Regions from separate parts of the Homo sapiens genome. Here region 2 is linked to region 1. Evidence: promoter capture Hi-C in human tissues and cell types (Jung and others, 2019). All regions are on one chromosome and are shown on one strand. Each heading gives the region's core, a stretch centred on a gene start or on the middle of the fragment in contact. The rest is flanking DNA. Distances are from core to core; before and after follow the strand shown.

What was found. The method cuts DNA at HindIII sites, captures the fragments that hold promoters and counts their contacts. A contact is called where the count stands out against the background at its distance.
Region 2: a fragment that was not itself captured here is called in contact with the fragment with the promoter of ARL1 in region 1 in 1 of the 25 tissues and cell types used here (dorsolateral prefrontal cortex).

What each region holds. Positions count from the first base shown.
Region 1 is chr12:101,406,457-101,409,523 of GRCh38, reverse strand. It overlaps ARL1 (ARF like GTPase 1), which reads left to right and starts at 1,752. Exons shown (of 6, transcript NM_001177.6): 1 at 1,752-1,882. The coding sequence starts at 1,879. RefSeq lists enhancers at 2,090-2,139, 2,220-2,269. The HindIII fragment of the contact is 11,101 bases long and covers 1-2,636 here.
Region 2 is chr12:100,831,550-100,834,318 of GRCh38, reverse strand. All of the region lies in intron 1 of ANO4 (anoctamin 4), which reads right to left. Among named protein-coding and RNA genes, the nearest start is that of ANO4, 38 kb to the right of the region's middle. The HindIII fragment of the contact is 4,551 bases long and covers 1-2,769 here.

The DNA.
Region 1 (3,067 bases), core at 503-3,002:
ATTTATGCTAAGGGAAATAAGCTAGGCACAGAAACACAAATACTTCATGATCCCACTTATATGTAGAGTCAAAAAAAGTGGAACTCATAGAATGAGAGCAGAATAATGGCGGGATCTTGGCTCACTGCAACCTCTGCCTCCCAGGCTCAAGTGATCCTCCCATCTCAGCCTCTCAAGTAGCTGGGACTACAAGTGCCACTGTGCCTGGCTAATTTTTTTATTTTTTTGTAGAGATGGGGTCTCACTATGTTGCCTAGGCTGGACTCCAACTCCTGGGCTCAAGGGATCTGCCCGCCTCGGCCTCCCAAAGAGCTGGGATTACAGGCCTGAGCCACGACACCTGGCCGACCTTAAATATTCTTAGCACAAAATAAACATATACACACAAGCACACACGACTATGTGAGGTGATGGGTATGTTATCATTTCACAACATATACAACTATGAAAACATCACATGGTACACTGTAAATATATACAATTTTTATTTAAAGCTAGAAAAATTCTTTTAAAATAAACTAAAAAGGCAGTCCATAAGCTTCTGTTGAATGGATGAAAATCTCTACCATAAATAAAAACATAATATGCAAAGGTATTAATAAGATTTGGAAGAAAACCTAAGAGAGTATTAACAGTAGTGACTACTGGGGATCACCGAGATACAGGGTATTAGGGATGGAAGGTTTACTTTTCTCTTTTTTTTTTTGAGACGGAGTGTCGCTCTGTCGCCCAGGCTGGAGTGCAGTGGCACGATCTCGACTCACTGCAACTTCTGCCTCCTGAGTTCAAGTGATTCTCCTGCCTCAGCCTCCTGAGTAGCTGGGACTACAGGCGCCCGCCACCACGCCTGGTGAATTTTCTGTATTTTTAGTAGAGACGGGGTTTCACCGTGTTAGCCACGATGGTCTCGATCTCCTGACCTCGTGATCCGCCCGCCTCGGCCTCCCAAAGTGCTGGGATTACAGGCGTGAGCCACCGCGCCCGGCCGGAAGGTTCACTTTTCAATGGATCTTTGGGAAGTTTCAAAACATACATGCTCAACCTTTAAAAATTTCTCTAGGGGAAATCCCTTCTCCACATCCTATAGGTGTGCTTCCTTCTTCCTCTCCACACACTTCACTATCAAAACCTACATTACTTCCAACAGTCGACCCTCGAGGGAATAAGTCCCTGGTCCCCACGATCGGGACCAGCCAGTCCACACTGCCGACCCCTGAAAGGCGGTCTCAGCTGCTCGGTCAGCGAGAAAAAAAGCCGGCGAGGTCCTCGTCCTGCAGGCCACAGCGAAGACAAAAACCTCTGGTTACTGGCCTCAGGTGCAAGGCTGCTCCGCATTGGCAGCGCGGTACCATTCCTATTATTATTACGTAGTCTTGTTTCTTTCTGGGAGAAAGCACCTAGGGAGAGTTGGGCTGGCCCCGCAGGGCGCTCCGGGACACGCGTCCTCTGCAACGCCGCAGCCTGCGCCAGCGTTCGACCGGGACGACTCATCGAGGCCCGACTCGCATTTTCAGTTGTCAGATTCGCCACTTTTTGGTGTCAGAATTTAAAACAAAAATTCCAATTTCTCTATTTCAGAAGCTCTTTCTGTCCAGAAAAACACAAGCAGGAGAGACTTCAGGTTTTTGAATTATTCGTCTCTTCTGGCCTCCACGGTATCTACATCCAGTGAGCGGGGACCGTGAGTCGAAAGCGACGACGCGGATGCTCAGGCCACCGTTCCCGGCGCGCAGTCGCAGCTGACCCTCGCTCCCGCCCCCGCCTGGAGTCCGACGTGGAAGTTGCTGGCTGACTGGGCTTGCGAGGAAACCGCCTCGGAGCTGCAGCCGAAGGCCAAGGAATCACTGAAGATCGGCGAGGGAGGACAGGGGGTTCATCATGGGTGAGGGGTTCGAGAAGGGCACCTGGGCGCGCTCGAGGGAGCCGCGGCCGAGGGCTGGGGTGCAGAGGAGGAGAGGGGCCGGCCAGGATACCCTAGAGTAGCCAGCTCCTCAGGGGGCGGGTCGCGGAGGACTTGACTCACTTTGGATCTTCATCTGTAGGGGTGGATCCGGCCTCTCGCGTTCTCCTCCGTCCTCTCTCGGTTCCCCTTGATTCCTGCGGGGTCCAGGGACCCGGACAGCTTGGGGACGTCCGCAGAGCCTGGGTTCGAGTTCTTTACCCTTATCATGAAGTTTTCCCTCATCCCCAGCTCCACTTGCTGGGCAGAGTTGTTCTTGCGGAGGCTGGCAACGCGTCAGTCGCAGGTTCGCCGAGGTTTCTTGGTGAAAGATGAGCTGCGGCCCCAGAGTGGAAGCTTAATCATTCTCTTTACCAGGGGCGCTGGGACGGCGTCAGTTTGAAAAACCTGAGAGCAGGTGTTGCTTATGTTGTTTTATGGCCAGTTTGGCATTTGTCTGCTAATCTGCTGTAGCGTTTCATGTAATAATACGGGTATTTCTAGTCGGCAAATGAAACTTTATTCTTGGTTCTTGGCCCGCTGATTGAGGGAACTGCATTCTCACAAGCATCAGGTAACACCCTCGCCCCGCTAGAACCCAAGTGAGGGTGCACATTCTTTAACTCGTTTCTCACCCTCCAAATGAAGGTGCAGATTCTTTGGCTTGGTTAAATCCCTCCACAGTTTTCTGGGGAGCATACTTCTTGCTCCCAAGCATCACAGGCGCTGTCCTGTCTTCCATAACCGCCTTCAGTTTTGTTCCGCCTCTCTTCTACCTGTAAATGGTAGAAAGGACTTTGTCAAGTCACACCTATTCTGTTGAACTTTCCCAAGGTTCTCTAGCCCATGGTGTTGTTCATTTTTCAACTCGCAGCTCTTAGTTATGCCATGTCTTTGCCAAATAACAGTGTGGCATCACTTCTGATGTTAACTATTTTTTTTTGTATTAATGTAACTTGTTTTTAATCTTCTCTAATGGCTCTGGATGGGAAAAGGACTGTGCTTTTTATCCTACACAATACTTGGTGTACAGGAAGCTTTCTGGGAATATTTTGTGATGCATTGGATAGAGCTTTATTATTTTTAAAAGTGGGTTTTTTGTCAAAAATAGTTATTGTTTTCAGCTTT
Region 2 (2,769 bases), core at 192-2,691, 570 kb after region 1:
ATAAGTTCAGGTGCCTGGCCTCGTACTAGGGCAGTCGAAAGGGCAGATCCTTCCACTAACTGCCCTGGTGTAGCTGGGCTGAACCCATCACACAGTCTCTTCTTATTTGCACCCTAAGCAATTGCCACAACAGTGGAAGAAGCAGTCAGAGCTCATTCACCTCGGTGGTGGTGGCTTGCTCAACAACTGCTCCTGTTATGAGACTGTTCACCAGATTCCTCGTCTCTCACCCATGTGATACCTCTTTGCTTCCCATCCATTCCCAAGCTTGGTTCTCTAGACTGGTGAATCGAGTGAGCTACCTTAGCCCTCCCAAAAGGTCCTCTCTTTACCCATGTCAGCCAAATCCTTTCTATTGCTTGTATCCAAAAACTCCAATGATACAACATGAAAAAGAAAATAATAAATCAGAGTATTTATTAAGGGACAAATACGTTTCCTTATTTGGCTCAGAGAAGAATGCAAGTCCCATGGGGTCCATGTAAGAGAAGTGATCAGATCTAGTCTTTGAATAATGAACAGGATCATCTGGATGGGTGGGGAAGGATGAGGCTCTGAGACAAGGAAAAAAGAAACAATACTTTAAAATCTCCTACTATGAGCCAGACACTCTGCTAGACACCTTCCTCAAGAACCCACAACTAGTAAGACAAAGGTGGAGCTTAGATTTGAGACAAGATCAAAGTGTGGTTTCAAGGGAGTGTAAGCAAGACTGAGATAGAAGATCAAATGACTAATAGAAGAACCTCTTAATTGGAGGGGTGGTGAATAAAACTTGAGATTAATTATGAGGTAGTAAATGGTAGAACATCTAAATTTAAATCTTCAGGCTATGACTATTCATCCTGACTATGACTCAGGAATGGAAGTGAGGCTAGAAACATGAATTGGGTAAGAAACACAAATTTGAATATAAATTAGTGAATCAGTGCTCTAAAATAGTAAGCTAATCTATTTATGCATGTGAATGACAATATATTCCATTTGTATATTACTCTTTTTATACAATGTTTATCTTGAGCTGCATCAAACCCTAATGATTACATCAGGTGTTAGAATGGGGGTATTAAACTAAGAAGTAATTATTCTTTTGCTTTTCAGTTTTTAATTACTTTTTGAAAAGATAGATTGGAGGCCATAAGTTACATTTTTTCATTTTCATTACCCTCTCCAGTTCCTGAATAGTTTTTCAAACTGTGTGCATCCTCTCCCCCAGTCCCTTCCATATGGAAGTTCTAGTGTTCACAAATACGTTGCGAAAATAAGCTACAGAGCATTTTAAATATGCTTATTTTACTTGGTCAGAAGTGTCAGTCTCAGGCAATCTGTCTGCTAGAAAGCATAAAAACCAATTCCTCACACAAGAGTTGAAATATTAACTGAGTATAAGTGTTTAAAGTGTTAGCAGAAAATAAACAATATATTAGAGGTGGAGAAAGTGGCTCTGGGAAAGAAACTAATGATTGAAACCATGTTTTCTTCACTTTCTCTTTATTTAAGATGGTATCTTTAAGACCATATGTAGCTCAAAATGGTGAGTTCCTTTCCATTGTGTTCAGATAAAATTGGTTCCACAGATCTTGAGAGGAAAGTGATTTTGACATGGCAGGTGGCCAGCTGAAATCATTAAGCAGCAGGTCTGAACAAATACATAAGCAAAAGCACAGCAAAGAAAAGAACTATTAGCTGACTATTCCTCAACTAAAGTAGATGCTACCTCCCAACATCAGCAACATAAAATAATATTTCCCTAAGCAGATACTTTACACGTTTCCAAGAAACCAGAATGACTCCTGAGGTGATGGGTAAAAACTAGCAAAAGTCATCGGTTCTAGGTGGATTGGGGTGTTGGGTTATTTAAGGAAACACACGTTCATTTACTGCTAATTCTCTTTAACATGCATTTTCACAGAAACTATTGTTTTGCTTTTTCGTCAACTCACCCCAACACCTGCCAATACCCATCCTTTAGCAGAGACAGTTTTAGTCAAGGGTTTTACAGAAAGGATTCCTGTATAGAACAAAAAATAATTTAGGACCTTAAAGGGCCTCTCAGGTACCCTGAAATATAAGACTACATAAATATTCTTAAAAAGTCATCTGCGTTCTTTCATGACAGGTAGACTCTTCCAGAGTGATCTTCAAAGCTTACACAGAGGATTGGGGGGTGGGGAATGAGCGTCCCTGTCTTCATCAGCCTTCATTCTGGAGGCTGTGTTGCATAAACATGTGCATACCTGAAACTGGTGGATCTCAGTTCAAACCCTGGCTCTGACACCAGAACAGATTTAAGGATTGTTAACTTACAAATGGAATCATTTGTAATATGGGAATAAAGACGGTACCAGCCCGCTACATTTATACTTCTCAATAAATATTAACAATCAATATTTTCATTAAAATGCAAGTGGCATGCTTCAGGAAAAAAATCAGAAGAGTCTGGAATTTTAGAAATCATCTAGTCCCACTCTATCACTCTACTAATAAAGAAGTCACAGCCCAGAAAAGTGAAATGGCTTGTTCAAAGGGTCACAGCTAAGTGGCTGGGTGGCAGGGCTAGCCATGCAAAACCCATGTTTTCTGACACTCAGGACACTGGCCCTTCCACCTTATCACAACCTAATGAAGCTAGAACCACAAGTTTATTTTAATACATTTTATGTAATAAATACATATTAAGCATCTCCTACAGTCAAAGTTTCATACACTCTTTTCCTCTCCATCAGCCTTGTGTTACCACACTGAGGAGCCCAGTGCCCTCCCCAAATT